Regions from separate parts of the Homo sapiens genome. Here regions 2, 3, 4, 5, 6 and 7 are each linked to region 1. Evidence: promoter capture Hi-C in 16 types of primary human blood cells and fetal thymus (Javierre and others, 2016). All regions are on one chromosome and are shown on one strand. The core of a region is centred on a gene start or on the middle of the fragment in contact, and the rest is flanking DNA. Distances in the headings are between cores, read along the strand shown. Region 1 holds the start of EIF4G2 (eukaryotic translation initiation factor 4 gamma 2). Region 2 overlaps USP47 (ubiquitin specific peptidase 47). Region 3 overlaps USP47 (ubiquitin specific peptidase 47). Region 4 overlaps MICAL2 (microtubule associated monooxygenase, calponin and LIM domain containing 2). Region 5 overlaps DKK3 (dickkopf Wnt signaling pathway inhibitor 3). Region 6 overlaps USP47 (ubiquitin specific peptidase 47). Region 7 overlaps LOC107984311 (a long non-coding RNA gene).

Region 1 (3,635 bases), core at 846-3,345:
TCTAAAGGTTTTACTTAATGTTTTTATTTAATCTTTGCTAATTGTGAACCCTTCTGCAATGGGCTTTGCAGGTACGATTTCAACTTCAAATCTTTCTATTTAAGTGAGAGAAAGGTAATTGAAAGATTGTTTTATCAATATTTTTACTTTTTCTACCTTAGGTTATTCCCTTCCAGGTCAATTTCTCACATAAACTCATATCTGCAAAGCCCATACCAAAAGGGTTCCCAATTAGCAAAGATTAAATAAAATATTAAGTAAAACCTTTTTTAAATTTTTAATTACTGAATTTTAAGTGTCTTAATTATAAGAACATCCGACTTTTACGGCTAGGTGAATATTCTCTTTGAAGTCTAGACAATAGTTTTTGAATACTACTCTTCTTAGTAAACTAATGTATTCGTTCATTATCAGATAAATGGAATGTAAACCAGTTATGTAAAAATATCACATATACTAATGCATTTTTCCAAACCTTAAAGCCCTACAGAAATTATAAAGAAACATTATTCTCGTGTTATCATGAAGCTAGAAGGGTCCAAAGAAATACAAAGTGAAACCTCTTGTATTTAAAACAAAACTTGCACCACCACCACCACCCCAAAATAGTTTTTTTTTTTTTTTAGAATATCTCTTCCAAGTTTTAAAGTTCAAGTAAAATTGATGTAATAGCAATAAGTGTAGTAACAGTAAAGTAGGGAATGGTGACTATTCTATAGCAAAGATCTACAGATGTTGGAATTGTGTTAAAAACCTTCAGAGCCACACCACAGCCTTCTATTACATTTAAATGTCGTAGGAAAAACTGCAATTTTCCGGAAAATTGTATTAAGGACCAGGTGCTCTAATACCAAGAGCTGTTTTGACACATCAAAGGTTAAGTTTGGGTCTTTGAAAATCCTGCCTCTTACTGAACACTTTAAAAGTCATTCATGTTAAAACACACACATTCTTGCCTTTGACTATACACTGTAAAAGTACTACATGTTAAAATGGAGATGGGGACATTTTTGTTGTTTAAGTTTATGGAAGTATGACTCCATTTTAGTATAGCTACAATGTCGCAAACGATGGAATAAGGTACTCATCAATACATTACCTGGTAAGTATAAATAGTTCAACTTGCCGGCTTTGAAAAGCTTAATCCTATTTCTTATGGTGAACCTTAAATAAAATGAAAATACACAACTGACAATGTTTAACGTGCACTTAAACAAACAAAAAACAAAAAAAAACAGGAGCTAGCAATTCGAAATCCTCCAAACACCCGCGGAAGTCTGACACACAGGGTGTTTTCCTCGGTGACCGCCAGCCGGACATTCCTATGGGAAAAGCAGCTTCTTCTGTGCGGTTCGAAGAAAATCAACCCCTTCCTTTCATCACTTTCTCATTCACTCTGCAGGGGGTGGGCCAATAAGGAGCTGAATGAAGCTCCCCTTTGGCATCCGGGCGCACGTCTCGCCTCCTCCCCACTACTTTCTGGGTTCCCTAAGGCTGCCGAAGCCGAGGACCTGGAGCCGGGTAGTGTCCCGGCGCTGCGCCCGGGGGCTCCAGGCCTCAACCCGAAGGGCTCAGCCCCGGGAGAGGCCAGGCACGCGAGGGCAGCCACAGCTCCAAGGGGCGCCAAGAAAAGCAATGCTCACTCGCCACGCACAGGGTTCGGGGGAGGTAAGGGTGCGTTTTCTTCCCATATTCCCGGTGAGAAAACGAGGTCGAGGGAAAAGGGGATGATACAACTGGAGCATGGCATATGGACTCAGTGAACAAAGGGACTGGAGCAAGAAGCAGCAGCCACGCCAACGCAGACTCAAAAGGGCTCTCCGGCTTTACGCACGCAACCCTCATCTCGACAGCGCTCGGCGCCCCTTACGCCACTGGCTCAGCCTCAGAGACTTCGCGAATATGGCTTTGCGCACTGCGGCGGGGCTGCGCCGCAACCGAGCTCAGCCCTGTGGCTCCTCCTCGCTGCCCTGCGCGGATTGGTGGCAGACGGCAACCGGGCCGCTGATTGGGCGGCGAAGGAGCCATTCGGGGAGACTCTGGTGGGTTCGGCTGCCCCAAGAGTGATAAGTTCGGCTTCAGACACGCCTTAGCGCCAGCAGTGAGTCGGAGCTCTATGGAGGTGGCAGCGGGTACCGAGTGGCGGCTGCAGCAGCGACTCCTCTGAGCTGAGTTTGAGGCCGTCCCCGACTCCTTCCTCCCCCTTCCCTCCCCCTTTTTTTTGTTTTCCGTTCCCCTTTCCCCTCCCTTCCCTATCCCCGACGACCGGATCCTGAGGAGGCAGCTGCGGTGGCAGCTGCTGAGTTCTCGGTGAAGGTGAGTTGAGCCGCTGCCGCCGCCGAGTGGAGCGCTCTAAAATGGCCGCCGTCCCTGGTCGCTTCTTCTCGAGTGGTACAAAATGGCGGCCGCAGGCGGAGCCGGGTGGGGCGACCCTTTTTTAGCATTTCCTCTGCGCTTCAGATACCTGGAAAGTCTTGGCTTTTGTTCTCTCTTCCTGTTGCTGACGGAGTAGAAGGAAAACGTCAGTGTTGGCCAGGCCGCCGTGCGGTCATGGCCGGATGGCCGACGCCTGCAGGGACGAGGCCGTGGCGGACCGAGGCACGGCTGTGCTCGGACGGCGAGGGAGCGTGGCTCGGACCGCTAGCGCCGTGGCGGGAGGCACGCGGGCCGGCAGGGAAGGCCAGGCCGTTGGCGCGGGACCAGGGAACCGCAGGCGTCCCGGAGCCTGGCCTCCCGGCGGGGAGGTGTGTAGGACCTGGAGTCGGCAGGGGCTGCCCTTCGTCGGGGAGGAAAGAGAGAGTGATGATTTCTGCCCCTTTTGTCAGCAGAGGAGGCCGTGGCGAGGCGGTTGTCAGTCCCGGGGGGATTTATGGTGCAGGAGGGGGCCCGCTTGGAGGCGGCGGGTGGGCAGGAGGCCGCCTTCCTGCTTGGAGAACAAAGAGCTGGGCGCCGGGCTGGCGGGGGTGGCCTCAGCTGCTCCTCCCCGTCGAGCGACCCGGGCCTCGCGGGGAGGTTGTCGGAAGCACTTCCCTAACTTGCGCCTGGGTGGGAGGAATGCTCCGCTCTTTTGTTCCCAGGAAGGGAAAAACGGGGCGGAGGTTCCTGCTGCCATGTTGTGGCCCTGGTCTTCCGCCTGCAAGTGCTAGTCCTGTACACCCGGCCCCCTCTCGCGCGTCTTTCCACGAGCTCTCCACGGGGAGGAGGCGAAAGGGTGGACAGGGGAAAACTGCTGAAGAGCTTTCGGAGAGACCTCATCTAGTCGCTGGCCTCGTCAAGGCAGTAAAAATTCCTAGGGCAGACATTTTCCACGTGATGTTGCTCGTGTCTGTAGTTAGACTTTTCTATTGATCTCAGTGCTCAGTTTTAAAGATAGTAGAATGTGGCTTTTTCAAAAGATTCGTTCTGAGCCGTTTAAAATGCTCTTGTGTTCTACGAAGTCTCTTTGCATCCTTGAACACCGGGGAATTTCCAGGTGGCTAAACAAAATGTAATTGTCAGTGTTTTGAGTACATTTTAGGTTAGTCTTACAGATCTGCAATGCAGTGACAGTGCCAGGATCTGAAATACGTTGTAATTGAATGAAGGCTTATAGATCTGTATGTTAGCAGTGTCTAATTTTGGTGCTCTTTCTCGTT
Region 2 (3,660 bases), core at 534-3,033, 1.1 Mb before region 1:
CAAAGCAGTCTTTAGCTGCTTCCTAACCAAAGAATGCAGAGTCATAAAACTGACACCTTCATCTATTGGATTTCTCCCTCTCTATATGGTCAAGATTCATTTGAATACAAAAAGTGATGATTATGTGATATAGTTTGGACATCTGTCCTCGCCCAAATCTCATGTTGAATTGGAATCCCCAATACTGGAGGTGGGGCCTGGTGGGAGATGTCTGGGTCAAGCCTCATGGCTTGGTGCTTTCTTTGCCATACTGAGTTCTCATGAGTTCTGGTCATTTAAAAGTGTGTGGCACCCCTCCCCCAACCCCGGAACTTGCTTGCTCCTGCTTTTGCCATGTGAAATGCCTGCTCCCATATTGCCTTCTGACATGACTGAAAGCTCCCTGAGGCTTCATCAGAAGCTGGGCAGATGCTAGCATCATGCTTCCTGCAAAGCCTGCAGAACTGTGAGACAATTAAATCTTTCTTTATAAATTACTCAGTTTTGGGTATTTCTTTATAGCAATGCGAGGACAGCCTGATATAATTTGTGAGGCTACTTTTAAACAATTAGTTAAAAGAATAAAGTATATGCAAAAAATCATTACTATAGACTCACATATAATCATTTTTACGAAAGTTTTTCTTAATAATTACAACTTCATATGTAACTCAAAGCATTCAAAGGGACAATATGAAATTATGACACCATTTAATAAAGCCAATGATTATTTGGCATTAAAAAGGGGAAAAAAATTTTATCAAAAACAGCATGTGTCCGTAAAAGGTAAAAGCTGTTGTTTCTAGGAAAGAACTCTAATTTAAAAAATATTCCATGTCATGTCATACAGCGCCCTCTGGTGCTTTATAACAAAACTAGAGTTGGGGGAGTAAAAGAAGGCTGAGTTATTGCACTATTGGAAGGTTGGGTCCACGTGAGGGACATGAATTACAATACTGGCTCTGCTTCCAGATAGCTATGACCTGGGTCAGCTTACTCTTTGGGGTAGTTTCTTTATAATACAGTACAAATGATTACTTCTGCTCTTAAATCTCTGTTCTGAAATGACTTACTATAATTTCCATTTATTTTTTCAATAATTCCATAGTAAATTATTGAACATTACTATATGACAGATCCTAGAATATACTTTATGTGAAAAGATGAGTAAGTCCTAAGCCTTGTACCAATTGAATTCACCATCTAATGAGGGTTTACAAAAATGTGAATAAAAACATAATGCTTGAAACAGATTTACTAATAGCAACGGTAGTGTCTAAACAAAGGAAATATACTGAAATCAAAGATTGTGATTATATTTTTTTTAATTATGAAAAGACTATGAGCAAACACATCACCTGTATATGTATCTGTACACACCCCCCTAGATATTTGTAATACAGCCTGAGTCAGAATTAGCAAGAAAAAACAAACACTGCAATATTTTAAAAGCAATAATTCCAAAAATGTTATCGTCCCTACATCAGACTGCACATAATATAATCTTACTACTAATAAACATTCAATTTATTTAATGTAGTTTTGTCTCTTCATATATTAAAAAATAATTCAACAACATTTTTTCAAGGTCCTTAACATTTGGTATTATTTTGTAACAGTCTTTGTAAATAATTCTTCCAGGCATAAAACAACTTAATTATCCTATCATTTAAAAGTAGTTATCTGGGTTTGCAAACTTACAAAAGAAATTAGTTTATAACACAAATTAAAATCAAATAACTGTAGGTAAACATACTTGCATTTCTGGCTGGATCCTTCAGTCTATAGATCAGCATATATGCATTTGTGGAACTAGTAGAAACATAAAAAAGATTAATAAGGACAAAAAGTAGATTAAAAAGATTCCACTTCTAAGCATGAAATATTTAAATTGTGATTTTTTAAAAAACAATTAGAAAATCATGTCACTGTTCACAGACACACTGAGATTTAAAACATTCCAGATAAGAGGAAAATCTGTTTCCTCTTATCACATTTAGAGAAGATTCCGTATCTCCTCTTGGTAATACAGTAAAGTCTTTAACAAAACTGTGTATTGGAATGTCTACATACAACAGTTAAGTCAGGGGCCAGCAAGTTGTTTCCAGCAAGGACCAAATAGTAAAAATCACAGGCTTTGCAGGCCATATGGTCTGTGCTGCAACTACTCAACTATGTTATTATAGTGTAAAAGCATTAACACATAATATAGAAACAAATGGCTATGTCAGTGTTCAAACTTTATTTCCAAAATATGGAGGCAGGTTGGATTTGGCTCATGGGTTGTAGTTCCTCAATCCCTTGGTTAAATCTTTGATGATAAAAAAACACTGAGAAGCTATAATTAATTCTAACTTTTAAACACTGAAAATTAGGAAATTGCTTACCTTGCGAAAGCACTAGAATAATATCCTCTGCTTCCTGAAGATCCACCATGTGTTTTCTTAATGTCCTCTTGTGTTATCTGAAAATGTGTTACATGATTTTTTTTGCAAATTCTATAACACTATCACATTAACGTCAATATGTAACTCAATCTTTAGCCTCAGAGTTAAATGCTATCAAAGACCTTCATGATTGCTCACACAGCTACCAATTCACAAAATTTAATCATAATCAGTGGCTGCTTACCAGCCAGCCAGTTCTAGTATTCCTAATCACACGTGAAGCACAAGTAGCACCTATGAAGGTTCAGGCCCAGAGGAAAATTGGTAGTCTATCTCTGGAGATATTCAGCAAGCCCCAAACAAAACAAAGCAAAACAAAGAAATAATAAACAAAGGCAAGAACTTTACTAAAAGCAAAAATTAAAGACAGATTTGATATGGGTCTTAAGATGTATCACTAGACAGATTCACTCATTCTTAATAAACTTTACTGTTGTTTAGAAACATCCTTACTCCCACCTTTCAGAGTAATAATCTTAAAGGACACCTCCTTACCCTGCTGACATGTTGATCATTGAAGCTGTACCACTGCTCATCACTGAATGACTTTATACATGCATAATAATGACCACCAGCAGCGCTCCCAGAATGAACCATAACAGAGAAAAGTTCATAGATCAAGGAATTCTAAGGGGAAAAAATAAAAGTAACTCAGAGGAGAAGGAAAACACAACCCTTATTTGTGTATTTCCTATTCTCTGTTAACACACAGAGAAGTAACATGGTAAGTTGTCCTATATATTACAGGTCAACTTTCCCCTAAGGTAAAACAAAAATGGCAAGTTATCAAACAACTGTATATACCAGAAGTTACACAAGTTTCATCAGTGCACTCTTCCACATTTTAATTATGCTATAACCTTTGAAACCATATATATCTGTAAATATAAACTTACATATGTAAAAATTAAATAATAGTCTAAAATTTCAGAAGCAGATGCTAATTACAGTGCTGTTCTAAAATACACAGTCGATAAAAAAAATCCGAAGTAACATACTGTTTCTTATTCAAATTCTATTTCCTTTACAAAAGAGCTGAGGAATATAATTATTTGGAACATCTTCTAATGTATTTATGCATTATCTGTGATATCATGATCTACTGATTTGTTCTCTCATATTAAGAATGAATCCTGAATTATACTATATCTACAATAAATTAATATTATTTCTTTAGCTTCCTGTTCTGCAAACAATTCTTTAAAGTTTGGAACTAAAGATTATTTTAGGCAAA
Region 3 (3,408 bases), core at 279-2,778, 1.1 Mb before region 1:
GCTTGCAAATATGTCTGGAGATTCTCTTTATCATATGGGCTTTCAGAGAGTAAATATTTTTAATTTTAATGTTTGCTAATTGTCCCTTTTGTAGACTGTACTTTTGGTAGCAAATCTAAAAACTCTTTGCTTAGCCCAGATCTGGAAGACTTTCTCCTATGTTTTTTCTAAAAGTTACATAGTCTTACATTTTACATTTAAGTTTATGACCCATTTTGAGTTAATTTTTGTATAAAGTCATTTAAGTCAAGGTTCATTTTTGTGATATGGATGTCCAGTTGTTCCATCACCATTTGTTGGAAACACCATTTTTCCTCCATTGACTTGCTTTTGTGTCTCAGTCAATAATTAGGCATATTTGTGTGGATCTATTTCTGGGTTTTCTATTCTACTCCACGGATCTATTTGCCTACCCCTCTACCAATATCACATAGTCTTGATTACTATAGCCATATAATAAGTCTTTTTGGCTAAGTAGTATTCCATTCCAAATCATGTAGACTGGTAACTTCCACTTTATTTTTATTTTTGAAAACTCTTAGCTATTCTAGTTTCTTAGGCTTCCATATACATTTTGGAATAAGCTTGTATATGTCCTCAAAAAATCTTGCTGGACTTTGACAGGAACTGCATTAAGACTATGTAATTATCTTTACTATATTGAATCTTCCAATTAATAAGTACAGTATGTTTCTCCATTTATTCTTTTCAAAGTTTTTTTGACACATAATACTGTAAATATTTATGAAGTACATGTGATACTTGATACATGCATAGAATCAAGTCAAGCTATTTAGGATATCCATCACCTTGAACATTTACCATTTCTTTGTATTGGGAACATTTAAAATCTTCTATTCTAGCTATTTTGAAATACACAATATATTGTTAACTATAGTCACTCTAATCTGCTCTCAAACACTAGAACTTACTGATTCTATCTAACTGTATGTTTGTACCTATTAACCAACCTGTCTTTATCCCCGCCTCTCTCAAACACACTGTTCCCAGCCTCTGGTAACTACCATTCTACTCTCTACCTTCATGAGATCAGCTTTATTTTTAGTTCCCACATGTAAATGAGAACATGTAATATCTGTCTTTCTGGTCCTAGCTTATTTAACATAATCTTTTCAAAGTTTTGTAGTTTTGAACACATAGGTCCAGTACATTTTTTGTTGGATTTCCATCTTTTTTCTTTTTGCAAAATTATAAATGGTATTGTATTTTAAACTTCACTTTCTACATGTTCATTGTTAGTATCTTGAAATACAATTTATTTTTTATGTTATTTTTATCCTGCTACCTTGCTAAACTCACGTATTAGTTCAGGTGTTGTTTTTTTTTTTTTTTTTTTGTACAAGGGATTTTCTACATAGATAATCATATCACCTAAAAATACAGACAATTTTATTTCTTCCTTTAGTAGTGCTTTTCATTTCCTCTTCTTACCTTACTGTGTTGGCTAGGACTTCTAGGACTATGCTGAAAAGGAGTGGTAGGAGCAGACATCCTTGCCTAGACAAGCGTGCCATTCCCTAGGAAGAAAGCAGTCTCTCACAATGAAGTATGATGTTAGCTATAGATATTTTAGATACGTTTTTTAATCAAGTTGAGGAAATTTCCCTCTATTCCTAGTAATCTGAGTTATTATAAGTGAATTTTGAATTTTATTAAGCACCTTTTCTAAATCGATATGATCATATGAATTTTCTTTTTTGGCTCGTTAATATGGAAGATTATACTCATTGATTTTTAAAATACTGACCAGTCTTGAATCCCGGAAATCAATCCTAGTCACAATATATAATTCTTTTTATAAATTGCTTAATTCCATTTGCTAATATTTTGGAAAGAATTTTACCAACTACACATATAAGGGATACTGTTTTTTTTAAGAACTGTCTTGGTTTAATATCAGGTAAGAATAGTGTCACAGGACTATGGGTTTCCTCCTCTTCCTTTCTTTTTTTTTGAAAAGAAATTGTACAGACCTGGTGTTCACTGTTCTTCGAATGTTTGATACAAGTATCCAGTGAAACAATCAAGATTTGGAGATTTCCTTTCAAGAGGTTTTAAATTATAAATGTAATTACCTTAACAGTTACAGGACTATTCAAATTATCTAATTCCTATTGAGTTCTTTTCAAAGAATTGGTTCGTTTTATCTAAGTTGTCAAATTTATATGTGCAGAGTTGTTTGTTGTGATCCCTTTGATATCTGCAAGATCTATAGTTATATCCTTTTCATTCCTGATACTGGAAATTTTTGCCTTCCCTTTTTCTCTGTCAGTCTTGCTATTTGTCAATTTTATTGTCTTTTCAAAGAGCCAGCCCTTTGTTTTGTTGACTTCCTCTACTGTTTTCTCATGTTCAATGTTACTGATTTCTCGGCTTTTCTTTATTATGTCCTTCCTTCCGCTTGCTTTGGGTTTCTTTTGCTCTTCTTTTTTCAGGTTAGGTGGAAGCTTAGATTTCTGATTTGGCCCTTTTCCTGTCTTTTAGTATAAGCATTTAATACTGTGAGTTTCCCTCTCGGTATTGCTTTAGTTGTGCCTCAAAAAAATTCGTTATGTTTTACTTTTCATTAAGTTCAAAATATTTTTAAAATTTCCCTTGAGACTTCCTCTTTGACCCATGGATCATTTAGAAGTGTTATTTCCCAAGTGTTTTGTGATATTCCTGTCTGCTAATCTGATTCCACTGTTGTTGAAAAAAATCACACATTCCATGATTTTAAATTTTTTGAGGTCTTATGGTCCAGAGCATATGGTCTATCCTCGTATATATTTAATGGATACTTGAAAAGGATGTGTATTCTGCTGCTGTTGGGTGAAGCACTTTAGCAATGTTCATTAGATCTGTTGGTTGATGGTGTTGCTGAGTTCTACCTCTTTGCTATTTCTGTCTAGTTGTTCTACCTATCAGTAAGAGAGGGAGGCGTGCTGAAGTCTGCAACTGTAATTGTAGATTTGTCTTTTTCCTTTTAGTTATGACAGTTTTTCCTTCATGTATTTTGGCAGCTGTGTTATTTTCTGCATACACATTTAGGATTGTTGTCTTCTCGGTTGTTTGACACTTTTATTACAATGTAACAGCCCTCTCTGTCTGTGGTAATTTTCTTTGCTCTAAAGTCTTCTTTATCTGACACTAATATGGCCATTCCTGATTTATTTTGGCTTATTGTGTTTGGGGTTTGCTCAGCTACTCAGATCTGTAGGTTTATGCCTTTTGCTAAATTTGGAACATTTTCATCCATTATTTCTTTGTGCCTGCCTTCTTTTTCCTTATTAATCTCCTTTCAGGACTTTAATGACACAAGTGTTACACCTTTGCTCTCCTTCCAGTATTCCAATGACACAGTGCTAAACCTTTTGTTATAGTCCCATAAGTCCTTGAGGATATATA
Region 4 (3,767 bases), core at 2-2,501, 1.3 Mb before region 1:
TATTCAACCCTGCAGAGCCTCAGTCTCCTGACCTGTTCAATGGGGACAGTACCCAGTAACCGCACAGGGTAACTGTGAAGACCAAATGAAATATGAATGGGAATGTGTTTGGCAAACTGTAAAGCACCTTTGGAAATATCAGACATTTTCCAAATCCTGAGAGGTGGGGTCTTCAGGTCAGAATATGTGGCTTGAAGGGTAAAAGAAAACCAAGAATCACTTCTTTTGGCCCAAGTCTCTATTGACAGCTTCTAGGACAAGGCACAAGTCTTCAGGGATTTTAGAAAGATGCTGATTGAATTCTATTCATGGTCTTGTAAAGGGGAGACCTACACCCACATCTATATAATAAGGCAAAACAGAATGTGTTACAGAATGATCCTGCAGAGAGGATGGACATTCTACCCTGACCTCAGAGATTAAGAAGGCACTTACAATAATACTATAATATAAAAATAATATAAGAATTGTTAACATAATAATAACTCTTTCAGAGTGCTTGCTATGGGCCAGGCACTGTTCTAAGTGTTGACATAGCTTCTCTGATATTCTCATAACAACCCTATGAAGCAAGTTTGCAGATGACAAAACTGAGGCACAAAGAAATTGACTTCTATCTTGGACTTACATGGCTGGTAAGTGCTGGAGCCAGGATTTGAACTTGTCAGGCTCTGCTCCTTTTGGGAAACCAAAATGGGTTTCAGATAGACTCTGAGAGGGTGGCTGAAAGGCTCTGATAAAGCCTGCAGGGCTGAGTCATTGAAGAAAGGTACTGTTTCACCCACAGTGTCTCCCACCCATGCTTTCCCCACTACATTCACACTGCCCCGATCTGTCCTGGAAATTGGCCATGCCTCTGCTCTCCCTGCACCTCTTTGTGGGTACCTAATACCAAGGGAGACTGATATGAGAACCTATATGTCAATGTTTACATTTACACAATGGAACACTCATGGATTAATCCCAGCTCTGCCATTTACCAGCTATGTGACCTTGTCAAGTCTTAGTCCAGGGCTTCTGCTTCCTCATCTGTAAGATGTGGTTAACACTTATTATCTTGGGCAGTTATTGCAAAGATGAAATGGGATGTGTCTAGTGCAGCACCTGGCATGTTGCAGTCTTGATAAACAACTGTTAAATAGGAAGACTTTACAAAGGATTTCCATTGCAAAATCATTTTCTTCAAGGTAAGATCTGGTGGTAACAGTAGTACTTTTAACTAGTATTCACCTGGTTTTCATCTGCCACTAACCTACACCCACAACATGGATGATCTCATTTAATCCTGAAAAGCGCCATTATTTTCTTCATTTGACTTGGCTTCAGGACAAGAAAGGATGTCCCTAACACATTAATTTTACACACACATACGTATATGCAGACAGAGGGACAGATAGTAGAGCAAGACAATATTTTTAGGCACTTATTATATGTCAGGTGCTAGTCTAAGTATTCTACATTCAGTAACCCACTTCATCCTCTTGAAAACGTGCCTGAAATGGTAAGTACCATTTTATCTCCATTTACAGATGTGGAGCTTGCAGCACAGTGAGGAAAGTGTCAAATGAGTAGACTTTTTTAGTCTACAGTGGTCATCTCCTCCTGAATCTCTGCTCCCCTGTCTCAGCCGCCAATATCCTATCCCCTACAAAGCCACTAGGGAGATCTCCCCACACATGTCACTCCTCTGCTCAAGAGCACTCAAAGACTCCCTACTGCCTAGTCAAAGACCCCCAACAGGTCGAAGAGGATCAACTGTGGGCTCAAGATCCCAGTAGGATCTGGCCTTGCCTCCTTCCCTGTGCTCCCAAAGTCCCAGTGACAGGGTGAGTCAGTGAAACCTTCTCTAACCACTCTGTTTAAAATTACAGCCCTCCCCGAGCTGCTCCCCTCTCCATGCAGCACACACCATCTCCTTCCCTGCTTTGATTTTCTCCACCATACCTCTCATCACCTGGCCTCCCACGCATTTAGCTCACTTGTTTATTGTCCCTCTCCCCTTCTGGGAATGTGGCAAGGGATGTTATCTTGTTTTGTTTTTTTCCCTGCTGCAACCCAGCACTGAGAGCAGTGCCTGCCACAGAGTAAGAGCTCATAAATACCTGCTGAATGAATGAATGAGCAGACATGTAAAATGCCTAAGAAGAAAATGTCCCCATAGAGCAATGGTGAAAGAATGGCTCCAGGAGGCTGGAGGCTAGAGATGCCTAGACTGAAATGTCCTGGAGCTAGACCCTTTCTTGCCTATCTTCCTGAGATTTACAAGAGTTCCCTGTGAGACCCTGGGCCTTCATCCTCCCATCCCTGTTCTGAAGTTAAACACACTCCAACTCAATCTCTCTCTCATTAAAGCCTCTTTGCATCTGTCCTAAACTCACCTGCCTAGCCTCATTTCCCGCTGCCCACCTTCAAAGCAGGCAATTCCCCATTTCTCTTGGCCTCAACACCCACTAGAGATGCTCTCTTCTTACTCCCAACTTATCCATCTGCACTGCAACTACCCATCAGGATCCAGATCAAATGCTGCTGCTGCCGCCACCTCTGCTCCCTCCTCCAGGAAGCTTTCCAGGCCCTCCCTAGCCCACAGAAAACACTCCCCACACCCACCGCTGCCTCCTTCAGGCAGATGGACATTAGTCATGAACTACCTTGTGGTTTTTCTTCTATGATTGAGCTGAACTGTTGCGAAAATCTCCTGTTACTTAATTTTTTTTTTTTTTTTACACACATAAGCCTTGCTTTCCCAAGCCCACTGTAAATACTTTAGGAGGAGAAGTTGAGCCTTATGCATCTTGTCATCCCCACAGCACAGAGCCTAGGGCACATAGTAGGTGTTCAATAAATGCTTCTTAATTGCCCAGGGTAAATAAGTCACCTCCCCAATCAGGTCACTTCCTCAATTATAGGTACCTGGACTGGCCACTCCCAAGAGGCTGCATTTTTTCTTCAGAGCCAGCTGTGATCTCAGTTACCTGCAAACCTCACCATGGGCCTATGTTTTCAAAGGATGTTAGACCTATTCTAATCTCACTCCACTGAACTGGGCAGACGAGATGATTTGTAAAGCATCTCAGGTCTGGCAAAGCAAAGTACATACTTCTTCCAGGCAAACCCAGAGATTCAGAGCTTCCAATCTCCTTAAATACTGGAGTTCACAAGAGGAAAAAACCATGGTGTAAGTTTTAAGTGACTGACAGCAGAAAACCAACATGAGGCTCAGGTGCACGCTTTGAGCACCAGCTATCACTAAACCGAGATTACAGTTTACTGTAATGGTCCTAAAATCCCACATGACTTCTGAGGGAGAGGCCCTGTTTACTACAGACCCTCCATGTGCTGGCCTATGCCAGGCTCTGCAGGAGGGCCTCCCTGAGTCCCCTCTGCAAGGTAAGTGGGCTGGGACCAGCCAGCTTTACACCTGAGGAGCTGAGGCCCAGGTGGGTAGGAGGCTGCAGAGCCCTGACTCAAGCAGGTGAGTCACTCACTCCACATGGCCTCACCAGTTCACATTAGCCAATCAGGCATCCCAGATTATCTGTTATTTAAAGAAAAAAAAAACTGAATAAGAAATACTTGCACCGGATTCCAAAGTCAAAAGAATACAAAAGTATTCAGAAAAAGTTTCCCTCCTACTCCTGTCCCCATCTACCTACCACGTCCCCACTCTAAAACAGGTCACCACTATTATCAGTTGCTTGTGTCTGTTTCCGGACCGTGATTATGCATATATACACAAATATAAATATGTGTCCTTTTGTTTACATTAA
Region 5 (3,429 bases), core at 717-3,216, 1.2 Mb before region 1:
CCACAGGTGAGGCCCCCTAACCCTCACTCTCAGGGAGCCAAGGGCTGAGGAGGTGCCATCCAGCAGGGGCGTAGGAGCAGGAGCAGGTTTTCCCTGGGGGAGGTGTAGATTCCCTTTAGGATTGGTTTGAGAGGTCGTTGGGTCATGCAGATGGAAGGGTCCAATCAGCAGTCGGTTCTAGGGGTCTGGAGCCCAGGCTGCCCAGGAGGCACAGATCTGGGGCTCATCTAGCTGGTGGCTGAAGCTTCATGAGTGGATGGTCCATGGAGAGGACATGGAGGGAGAAAAGCCTGGGCTCCCTCCCCAGACCTGTCACAATGACAGATAAGCAGAGAAAAAGGAGCTGGCAGAGAGGCCACGGGGAGGCCAGGAGTGGCCACCAAGGTGGAGGGTGCAGCCCACACTGTCTGAGGCTGCTGAGACTCCATGAGGCATGAGGCTCAAGCCTGGCCAGCTTCTCAGGGCACATCTCCCTGTCCTCCCCGCAGCCTCTACTCAGTCTTCTCTCCCAACAGAATCCAGGGCTGCTGGGCAGACAGGCAGAACTCCCATTCCCCACGGCTCTGTGCAGTGGCTCACACCTGTAATCCCAGAGCTTTGGGAGGCCAATGCAGGAGGATTGCTTGAGGCCAAGAGTTCAAGACCAGCCTGGGCAACATAGGGAGATCCCGTCTCTACCAAACACATTAATTTTTTTTAAAAAAAGGAATTCTTCCTCCCTATTCCCACAGAGGTCCATGGCTCCCTGCATGTGGCTAGACTACACCCCAGAGTCAGGCTGACTCCTGCCTGGAGGCCCGAATGGGCCACAGTCTTTGAGGGGCTGTGGTGCTGCTACATAGCACTCAGGTCCTGCCCCTGGGCTGCGGGGCCTGAGAGTCACAGGAGGTCAGGCCTGCGCTGGAGGAGGGGAAGCTGCCCCCCACCAGCACATTCTCCCAAAGTGAGCCTCCCTCAGCCATCATTTTAAGATAGATGTTGACGGGAAGTGAAGTGTCTCTGTTGAAGAGACAGGAGAGGAGGGGGCATGAAGGTGAGGCTGGGAGCCCCACAGAGTCAGGGCGCCTTAGCTTTCGGCCTGGGCAGGCTCCCACGTTTAGAGCCTGGCTTTGTCCCATCTCTCCCCAGCCACAGCCTGGTGTATGTGTGCAAGCCGACCTTCGTGGGGAGCCGTGACCAAGATGGGGAGATCCTGCTGCCCAGAGAGGTCCCCGATGAGTATGAAGTTGGCAGCTTCATGGAGGAGGTGCGCCAGGAGCTGGAGGACCTGGAGAGGAGCCTGACTGAAGAGATGGCGCTGAGGGAGCCTGCGGCTGCCGCCGCTGCACTGCTGGGAGGGGAAGAGATTTAGATCTGGACCAGGCTGTGGGTAGATGTGCAATAGAAATAGCTAATTTATTTCCCCAGGTGTGTGCTTTAGGCGTGGGCTGACCAGGCTTCTTCCTACATCTTCTTCCCAGTAAGTTTCCCCTCTGGCTTGACAGCATGAGGTGTTGTGCATTTGTTCAGCTCCCCCAGGCTGTTCTCCAGGCTTCACAGTCTGGTGCTTGGGAGAGTCAGGCAGGGTTAAACTGCAGGAGCAGTTTGCCACCCCTGTCCAGATTATTGGCTGCTTTGCCTCTACCAGTTGGCAGACAGCCGTTTGTTCTACATGGCTTTGATAATTGTTTGAGGGGAGGAGATGGAAACAATGTGGAGTCTCCCTCTGATTGGTTTTGGGGAAATGTGGAGAAGAGTGCCCTGCTTTGCAAACATCAACCTGGCAAAAATGCAACAAATGAATTTTCCACGCAGTTCTTTCCATGGGCATAGGTAAGCTGTGCCTTCAGCTGTTGCAGATGAAATGTTCTGTTCACCCTGCATTACATGTGTTTATTCATCCAGCAGTGTTGCTCAGCTCCTACCTCTGTGCCAGGGCAGCATTTTCATATCCAAGATCAATTCCCTCTCTCAGCACAGCCTGGGGAGGGGGTCATTGTTCTCCTCGTCCATCAGGGATCTCAGAGGCTCAGAGACTGCAAGCTGCTTGCCCAAGTCACACAGCTAGTGAAGACCAGAGCAGTTTCATCTGGTTGTGACTCTAAGCTCAGTGCTCTCTCCACTACCCCACACCAGCCTTGGTGCCACCAAAAGTGCTCCCCAAAAGGAAGGAGAATGGGATTTTTCTTTTGAGGCATGCACATCTGGAATTAAGGTCAAACTAATTCTCACATCCCTCTAAAAGTAAACTACTGTTAGGAACAGCAGTGTTCTCACAGTGTGGGGCAGCCGTCCTTCTAATGAAGACAATGATATTGACACTGTCCCTCTTTGGCAGTTGCATTAGTAACTTTGAAAGGTATATGACTGAGCGTAGCATACAGGTTAACCTGCAGAAACAGTACTTAGGTAATTGTAGGGCGAGGATTATAAATGAAATTTGCAAAATCACTTAGCAGCAACTGAAGACAATTATCAACCACGTGGAGAAAATCAAACCGAGCAGGGCTGTGTGAAACATGGTTGTAATATGCGACTGCGAACACTGAACTCTACGCCACTCCACAAATGATGTTTTCAGGTGTCATGGACTGTTGCCACCATGTATTCATCCAGAGTTCTTAAAGTTTAAAGTTGCACATGATTGTATAAGCATGCTTTCTTTGAGTTTTAAATTATGTATAAACATAAGTTGCATTTAGAAATCAAGCATAAATCACTTCAACTGCTCTTCTGTAGTTCTTGGATTTCTTTTCCCTTTTGACTTTGAATAAATGTAAAATCCTTTCAGCCAGAAAAAGTAAAATAGAAACAACCTGTATTAAAAATCTTCCATAGAAGCAAATTTGCCACCCAACTGAAGCACACCTCTTTCAGCATCAAAATATTTTAGAAATCTTAACTATTTTTGGATGGGAATTTGTCTTAAAGAGTGTAAATGCTTCACGGCCTTCTGAAAGGACAAATGGAATATGTATGACTCTTTTTTTAGGGGAGCCTTCTTTAATCAAATGCAGTTCTGGGCCATAAGACAGTAAGATCCTCAAGGACCATAATATTAGAGCTACTATATTGAAGTCAGCTGCGTGGCAAGTGCCAGATTAGGCAGTCTACCTATATTCATTCATTTAATCTTCACTGAACTCCATGAGCATTTTCTTCATTTCACAGATGAACAAATGGAGGTGCAAAGAGATTGACAGAGTAGAAGTCAGACAAAAACAGCATCTAGTACAGTATGTCCAGGTTATAGTGATTATTTTAAGATCAAATAGGGAGCTGTTTTCTATTCAATGTCAGAAACCATCAGGACCACCCTACATTCTGGTTACTCAACAGATATCTACTGAGAGCCTCCTCAGAATCAGGTGCTGTGGTACGCTTTGGGGTGCCAAGCTGACCCAGATAGGGTCCCTACCTTGAAGGCATCCCAGTCTAATGAGGGAGACA
Region 6 (3,797 bases), core at 465-2,964, 1.1 Mb before region 1:
CAAACATCTTTGATTCTCCTGTGGGACCAACTTAAAATATGTACTCCAAATACCATAGGGATACACATTCAACTTCACTGACTGTTAGAGGTATTTTTCTGGAAAACTTAAGACAGAAAAATATGGAAATCTATGTTAAGAAAATAAACCAATCCAGTATCTGGGATTTAAGAGTATAAAGCCTTAAAGAACCAATAATAGCTTGTCTTAGATTTTTAATCAGTGGGCAATGAGCAGTGATTGATGGTTACTGAACTAGAAGGTGACATAAGTGCTACAACTTTAGATGACTGAAAATAATTCTAACTATTATGTAGGGTGAATTTGGACAGAGAGAAAGGAAACAAAAAAGGCTATCTAGAATACTGTTCTAATAACGCAGATGAGATCCAACTCAATGGTCTTCTTCCTTAACCACACTCCCATGCAAAAGTGATCAGTACCTCTGCTATGTTCTGAGTGTTTATGTCTCCCCAAAATTCACATGCTGAAACCTAATCCCCAATGCAATGATATTAAGCGTTGGGGCCTTAGGAGCTGATTAGGTCTCAAGGATGGAGCCCTCATGAATGGAATCAGTGTCCTTATAAAAATGGTCCAAGGACAGATGTCTATCAAGGATTCCTAGAAATTTTTTTAATAATTGCAATTGTTTATTTTGGTAGTAAACATTAATACAAGATTAGGTCAAATGATGACCTAAGAAGATGTCTACCAATAATCCTCCCCTAAAGTCCATAAAATGTCAAAAAAGAGCATGCTTAGCAAACCAAAAATTTTGAGAAATTAAAAAATAGAAAACAGACAGGATCAGATCTATGGAAAAATAAAACTAAGGGGAACCACAGCCCAAAGATCCTATAAGAGAAGACTACTGTGGAGATAAAGGTAGTAAGGAACTTCAGACTAAGGTCAAGACATAGAGGCCAGGAAACAGCTAAAAGTGAGGAAGTAGGAAAAGGCATTCTGATCAGTTTGGTATCTCCTCTCTTTTTCTCCTTGGACTACGTAGCAGACAGCAGTGCTTATTTCCTGTCAGGGTAAAGAGTGGGCACTGTGACCGGAGAGGTAGCACAGTGCTGTCTAACAAGGTACTGATCAGCTCCTAACCCTAAAGAGTCAGAAGCCAGCCAATCCCAGAACAAGTATAAACACATCACACCTAGCAGCACGTCTCACCCTTTTTCCACAACAAGCAAGAACTGAATATGGTAAGTTTAATCAGCATTCACAGAGAAGTGAACAGAGATTCTCAAATATAAAGATGAGCAGAAAATAAAAATCACTAAATATTTAAAGAAATGCTACACCATGAAAGAGAGAAACTAAATATAATGGATAAGGGATAAATAATTAAGGAAACAGTTAACAGACGACTAAAATTAGAAAGTATACCCTCAAAGAGATCTGACAAGACTGCAGTCGTTAAAAATGTTTTTAAGCTTAAGAGTTAAAAGTCAAAAGCTACACATGTTCATACAAAGAAAAATAAACATACAAAAAAGTTGCCCAGAAATGCACATAGACACACAAATAAAAAGAAATAGTCAGCTAGAGATAATCTTGGTTAACACTGTAATGTATGAGGCATATATGCTTCCATTTTTCTTACTATGAATATTTTTCTTCTTTTCCAAAAATCAGATCATAAAATATGATTTTACAATCTTTTTTCACGGAATAATATAAGATGATCATCATTCTGTTCAGTAAATATAGAAATTTTTCTTTAGTTGAGACAATATTATGAGAGTCACCTTTCATGAATGAAAAAACTGATGAAATGACATTATGTAAACTTTAGGACGAGCAAATGTTAAATCCAGAATGGAGGCAAAGGAAGAAGAAGGATCCAATTACTGAGCTGCACATAGGCTCTTACTGTAGTTGTTATACTTTTGTTTATGATTTTAAGAGTTCCAGGATTTAACATTATCATCAGTAACAACAACAACAATGGCTATAATAACATTTTTAGAAGCTTAAGTCTAGGATTTTACCATATCAGCAGTATTGATTCCATTTCCCCACACCAAGTCAAAGGTTCCATTTATGTAGCCTACTTTGTTGGCCACATCTTCAAAGAGCTTTCTGACTGGAGTAGATGCTGGTAAATTTAAAGTGATCCGTTCATTCACTGTCTTTGAATTAGTAGTATCTTGTATAATACATAAGACTCTAGGTTCTTCAGCAGCATTTTCTATCTGAAATTTTAAGAAAAATATGACTTTATATATTATCTTTAAAGCAAAACAAAAGTATAATTAGCTATAAAATTTTATGATTAAATGTAAAAGACCTCAGGAAATACTAAGTATTTTCTCTGTGCTATTTTCTCTGTTTTATCGTAGTCTGAAACGCATTCTAATGGATATGTCAAACATATAAGCACCGTATATGTTTGTTTTGGAAGAATCAAGGCACATTTCAGAATCAACAATCATTTTTGGAGATATTTGCTTTCACCTTTAAGACTGTAAATCCATGGTCAATAAGCCATGAAGATAGTAATATTTAAGCAATTTTAAGTTAAAAATTATAAAATCTGATCCTTAAAAAATGTGTCATTACCATGCTAGCCACAGTCAAATCAAATATTTCTGGGTCTCCTAAAAAAAAATGGGAATTGTGCAAAAATGCAGTAAGGATTGTCTAAAGATTAAAAAATCTATAACTAAGGGATACAGGCTACCACATCTCCTGATCTTTATGCTGCTGTACTCATAAGTCCAGATGTCCAAAAAGCTCCATTTATTAACGTGTCAGGGGCTGACAAGCTTATCCAAACAGATGAGCCAGGAGGAGGGGGAAGGAAAAACAAGGAAACAGTTTCAATTACCAATACAGAAAGGAATTAGGGTCACAAATTATCCTTCCTGCTTAAACTTTCTCAAATAAGCTATGCCCTCCCTCAAGCTGTTAAAGGACACCACTTTTCCACTTTCCACAGGGGTAAAAGACTACATCAAAGATACTTTATTGGAAGAAATTCCTTTCCCTCCTTCTATAATGGCCATCTCAATGAATGGCACCATCATCTGCCTGGCTGCTGAAACCAAACAGCTGAAATGAGCATCTTCCTTGTCCTTCCCTCTTTACCTCACATAGTCTCCAAAACCTATCAATTCTACCTTTTGAATATCTCTTGAACTACCTCCTTCACTTTATTCTTGCCTGCAGCAATAAGAATATCCTACAACAAAATTATGGAACAGCTTCCTAAGAAGTTTAACTTCTTCCAATCTTATATTCCTTCAACCCCGAATAGTATTTCTGATATACAAATCTGATGATGTAAATCTCTTGCTTTCCCTGACAGTCAGGTGTGGCATTAAACTGAGAGATGTCTCACCATCTCCATAATGGGCTATTCAGAAATATGATCTCTACAAACTGGTGGTGTACACAAAAATTTATTTCTTCCTTAGTTTTTATAACACTATCAGCTTCAACCTTTTGTTGCTTCTATATTATCCATTTTTAAATAAGAATAATTATAATTGGCTAGTACTGAAGATGGGATAGCCACAAAGTTTTTTGTTTGTTGAAGTAATACAATTATCATTTGTTTCTGTGACACACAATTTTGGGTTTGCAAGAGATCATTTAAATTAAAGTTACTCCAATTAGTTTAGAACAAAAGTAAGTTGCTATAAAAGTATAATATTTAAAATAAATTGGGTAGCACTACAATTCAGACACATCCAAATATTTAATTACTAAAAACTTACTTAAAAAATAAAAAGAAAATACATTTCTGTGAAATAAAAGAAACAAAAGAACATTATTAACATACA
Region 7 (3,474 bases), core at 67-2,566, 1.0 Mb before region 1:
ATCTCTAAGTCACTGGAATGGAAGTTCTCAATGTCGGTGGAAGTAAAGAGTTAGTTAGAATCTTCTCTTTTTCTTTCTTTTTTTTTTTTCTTTTTTTTGTTTTTTTTTTTTCAGCCAGAGTCTCACTCTGTCACCCAGGCCAGAGTGCAGTGGTGTGATCTCGGCTAACTGCAACCTCCACCTCCCAGGTTTAAGTGATTCTCCTGCCGCAGCCTCCTGAGTAACTGGGATTACAGGCACATGCCACCACGCCTGGCTAAGTTTTGTATTTTTAGTAGAGACGGGGTTTCACCATGTTGGCCAGGCTGGTCTCGAACTCCTGACCTCACGTGATTCAACTGCCTAGGCCTCCCAAAGTGCTGGGATTACAGGCGTGAGTCACCGTGCCCAGCTGGAATCTTCTCTTTTTCGTTTTCACATTAAATCATACTGTGTTCTTTTAATTCTTTTAAAATAATTCGAAGACAACAAATTAAAAGAAATAATGTATGAAAACTGGTTAACATAATGACTGACACATTATAGATGCTCAGTATATAAAAACTTTCATTTTTTTTACTGGCCACTTTGGTTCATAACTTTTTATTGTATCTCTAATGACAAACACAAGTTTTTGTAGAGTACTTACTCTTAACTATGGTCCAGGCTCTGTATGGAGTATTTTACACACTCTATCTTATTACTCCCCATAACAACTTTATGATTTGGGAACAATTATTATCCTAATTTTACAGACAAGGAAACAGGAATAGAGAAGTTAAGTAACTTCCAAAGTCATAAGGCAAATAGATAAATAATGGAACTGGGATTTAAACCTAAGCAGTCTGACTCCAAAGTCTTTCATCATAGGTGAAGCCTCAGTTGCTTCTACAGATACAATCTTTAAACCTTCTGGTTCGTTATGTGGTAACTGCAATCTACCTACAGTGGAAGAAAGTAATGGCTAATCATTTTCACTCTTTAGCAGAGTTGGACGATCTGAAATCTCTAGATCTTTCTTTAAAAATTTTAGCCAATGGGCTCTGTAGCTTGATTCTTTAAATTTTAAATGTTTCTACTCATCTAATTGTTTGGTGATTTTCACTAGACTAAATGATCCCACTTCCTCATCATTTTTTAAGAGATCTAATTGTTTAATTCTTGTAGTTTCTTTTCTGGAAGACTAACAATCTCCTTCCCTAAAAGTGAACATTTTCTTTCTTTCTTTTTTTTTTTGAGACAGAGTTTTGCTCTTGTTGTCCAGGCTGGAGGGCAATGGCGTGATCTCAGCTCACTGCAACCTCCGCCTCCCGGGTTCAGGCGATTCTCCTGCCTCAGCCTCCCTAGTAGCTGGGATTACAGGCATGCGCCACCACACCCAGCTAATTTTGTATTTTTGGTAGAGACGGGGTTTCTCCATGTTGGTCAGACTAGTCTTGAACTCCCAACCTCAGGTGATCCACCCGCCTTGGCCTCCCAAAGTGCTGGGATTACAGGCATGAGCCACTGCGCCCGGCTGAACATTTTCTTTAAGAAGGTAATTAGCAGTTGCTATCCCTTTCTTCTTCCTCTGTCTTCATCTGATAGAGCAGGTAGTGTTTTTGCATAATGCCACCTAAACTTGTCAAAGTCTTTCATGGACCAAAACATGCAAGTAAAGGAGTATCATCTTATCTTTTTACATGAGTCCTCTGGTAGAAAAAATTGAAAATGATACTTAGATGCTAACTGTTGATAAAATTTTCTACAGGTACAGATAATTAGGTCATCTTTTGTTTAAAAATATTTCAGAAATGTTATCTAATTTTCTAATGTGTTGGCAGAGCATAGGCTTTTAAACCTAATTATCATCACCATTGTTGCCCATAATCAACACTTAGATTGGATTCTTGTCGTATACATGGCCCTGTTGCTTATGAGGAATCATAAATTCCTAGCCAGACTCAAAGTCTCAGTTGATTTAACCACAAAAACTTCAAAATTTATTATGTGTGTGAGCACTACAATCATACAAGATTCTTTGGAAGATAAAATATAATAAATAAAATTTAGAAGGTAGACCATAAAAATAGATCAGAAAATGTGATGGAAAGAACAGAAAATGAGCAATAGTCATTTATCATAATACATTAATCTCCATTAAATATCTCTAAGGTGTTTGACATTGTGATAGATGCTTAAGAGAGCATAAAGTCAGTTTGGTGACTTATTGCCTGCATAATTGAATAAAGGAGATTAAAAATGATGGAGCATGTCAGAATTTATGTCGGAAAATGTACTCTGAAATTCAATTCAACAGATATTTATTAAGAGTCTTCTGACAAGGCGTGTTGCCAGGAACTATGTCAAACAGACGACTAAGAATGTTCTCTACTCTCAGGAAGCTCACAATTTAGTTAGAACAGCGCTAGCCAACATGAAAATTGGGGAAGGCACTCCAGAACTCACAGCTGTTTGAGCACAGCTTGGGCTAGACTTGAACCTTCACTCACCCTTAGCCAGGCATCTGCGTGCATTGCACAGCTTGAACAATCACACACAGAAGCCCTAGCTATGACTAAAACAAACAAGCATGATGGAAAGATAGAATAATAGATGTGCACATATAAACCTGAGTGTAGAGAAATGGATTATATGTGAACATGACAATTGAACCTCAAGATGATTGGTCAAATGTTTGAGAGAGAGAAAAAAAGGTCCCCTTTACCTATGATTGGCCCAGTATGGGTCGTATGCTTCATGTAATGGCCAAGACTAAACTGAGTGCTGATCGTCCCAATAGACACACAAGTGTGAAGACATTCCTGGCAGGCAAAAGCAACGCGGGAATCCTGGAGAAGAGAATTACAAATGTCATGCTGAGAACTTACACATTTTTTGGTTATTAGTAGAGAAATCTATTAGAAATAAATTTTGTCTTTATAAAATGTTTTATAGTAGTTTGGGAAAATTCAGTATTATTTAAGTCTACATGTAATAAGTGGAATTTGAATCTTAAAACTGTTTTCAACACACAAACTCATTTTCCAGAAAGTAACTACAATAAGCATTTTGAAGTGTAAGCTTCTGGACTACCACAGAAAGTTGTTTAGCTGTTAATTTTGGGGGCAGTGTTCTCCAATTATTTTTGACCAGATGTTTATTTCATAAATCACTAATATATATTGATTAATTTATTTATAAACTCAATACATGTCTTACTATTGTTGGCTAATGTCCTGAGACTTAACAACTTAGAGCAAAGTTCATCATTAAAGACACGGGTGGCCAGGTGCAACGGCTCACACCTGTAATCCCAGCACTTTGGGAGGCTGAGGTGGGAGGCTTGCTCTAGCTCAGGTGTTGGAGATCAGCCTGGGCAACATAGGAAGACTTCTGTCTCTACGAAAACATAAAATAAAAATAAATAGCTGGGCATGGTGGCATGTGCCTATAGTCCGAACTACTTGAGAGGCTGAGGTTGGAGGGTGGCTTGCACTCGGGGCGTCAAGGCTA

The links. Contacts are between HindIII fragments. The CHiCAGO score rates a contact against its expected background, and 5 or more counts as called.
Region 2: a fragment that was not itself captured here is called in contact with the fragment with the promoter of EIF4G2 in region 1 in 1 of 17 cell types (naive CD8 T cells); the score reaches 5.5 in naive CD8 T cells.
Region 3: a contact is called between a fragment that was not itself captured here and the fragment with the promoter of EIF4G2 in region 1, in 1 of 17 cell types (total CD4 T cells). The highest score is 5.3, in total CD4 T cells.
Region 4: a fragment that was not itself captured here is called in contact with the fragment with the promoter of EIF4G2 in region 1 in 1 of 17 cell types (M0 macrophages); the score reaches 5.1 in M0 macrophages.
Region 5: a fragment that was not itself captured here is called in contact with the fragment with the promoter of EIF4G2 in region 1 in 1 of 17 cell types (non-activated CD4 T cells); the score reaches 5.3 in non-activated CD4 T cells.
Region 6: a contact is called between a fragment that was not itself captured here and the fragment with the promoter of EIF4G2 in region 1, in 2 of 17 cell types (naive CD8 T cells and naive CD4 T cells). The highest score is 6.9, in naive CD8 T cells.
Region 7: a contact is called between a fragment that was not itself captured here and the fragment with the promoter of EIF4G2 in region 1, in 2 of 17 cell types (total CD4 T cells and non-activated CD4 T cells). The highest score is 5.8, in total CD4 T cells.

Annotation. Positions count from the first base shown.
Region 1 is chr11:10,807,386-10,811,020 of GRCh38, reverse strand. EIF4G2 (eukaryotic translation initiation factor 4 gamma 2) reads left to right here and starts at 2,095. Exons shown (of 22, transcript NM_001418.4): 1 at 2,095-2,316. LOC101928053 (a long non-coding RNA gene) reads right to left here and starts at 1,724. Exons shown (of 3, transcript NR_120540.1): 1 at 1,655-1,724; 2 at 1,100-1,164. RefSeq lists enhancers at 1,011-1,617, 1,693-1,742, 2,253-2,512, 3,243-3,322 and a silencer at 1,923-1,972. The HindIII fragment of the contact is 4,879 bases long and covers 1,142-3,635 here.
Region 2 is chr11:11,928,827-11,932,486 of GRCh38, reverse strand. It overlaps USP47 (ubiquitin specific peptidase 47), which reads right to left. Exons shown (of 28, transcript NM_001282659.2): 12 at 2,922-3,053; 13 at 2,367-2,443; 14 at 1,736-1,791. Among named protein-coding and RNA genes, the nearest start is that of DKK3, 78 kb to the left of the region's middle. The HindIII fragment of the contact is 4,291 bases long and covers 1-3,660 here.
Region 3 is chr11:11,911,208-11,914,615 of GRCh38, reverse strand. All of the region lies in intron 8 of USP47 (ubiquitin specific peptidase 47), which reads right to left. Among named protein-coding and RNA genes, the nearest start is that of USP47, 71 kb to the right of the region's middle. The HindIII fragment of the contact is 1,884 bases long and covers 587-2,470 here.
Region 4 is chr11:12,125,661-12,129,427 of GRCh38, reverse strand. The region is part of intron 1 of MICAL2 (microtubule associated monooxygenase, calponin and LIM domain containing 2); the gene reads right to left. Among named protein-coding and RNA genes, the nearest start is that of MICAL2, 17 kb to the right of the region's middle. The HindIII fragment of the contact is 2,625 bases long and covers 1-2,563 here.
Region 5 is chr11:11,962,386-11,965,814 of GRCh38, reverse strand. DKK3 (dickkopf Wnt signaling pathway inhibitor 3) reads left to right here. Exons shown (of 7, transcript NM_001018057.2): 6 at 1-6; 7 at 1,129-2,779. The coding sequence ends at 1,351. Among named protein-coding and RNA genes, the nearest start is that of DKK3, 45 kb to the left of the region's middle. The HindIII fragment of the contact is 3,439 bases long and covers 247-3,429 here.
Region 6 is chr11:11,878,584-11,882,380 of GRCh38, reverse strand. It overlaps USP47 (ubiquitin specific peptidase 47), which reads right to left. Exons shown (of 28, transcript NM_001282659.2): 2 at 2,001-2,204. Among named protein-coding and RNA genes, the nearest start is that of USP47, 39 kb to the right of the region's middle. The HindIII fragment of the contact is 539 bases long and covers 1,445-1,983 here.
Region 7 is chr11:11,827,592-11,831,065 of GRCh38, reverse strand. The region is part of intron 2 of LOC107984311 (a long non-coding RNA gene); the gene reads left to right. Among named protein-coding and RNA genes, the nearest start is that of USP47, 13 kb to the left of the region's middle. The HindIII fragment of the contact is 3,456 bases long and covers 1-3,044 here.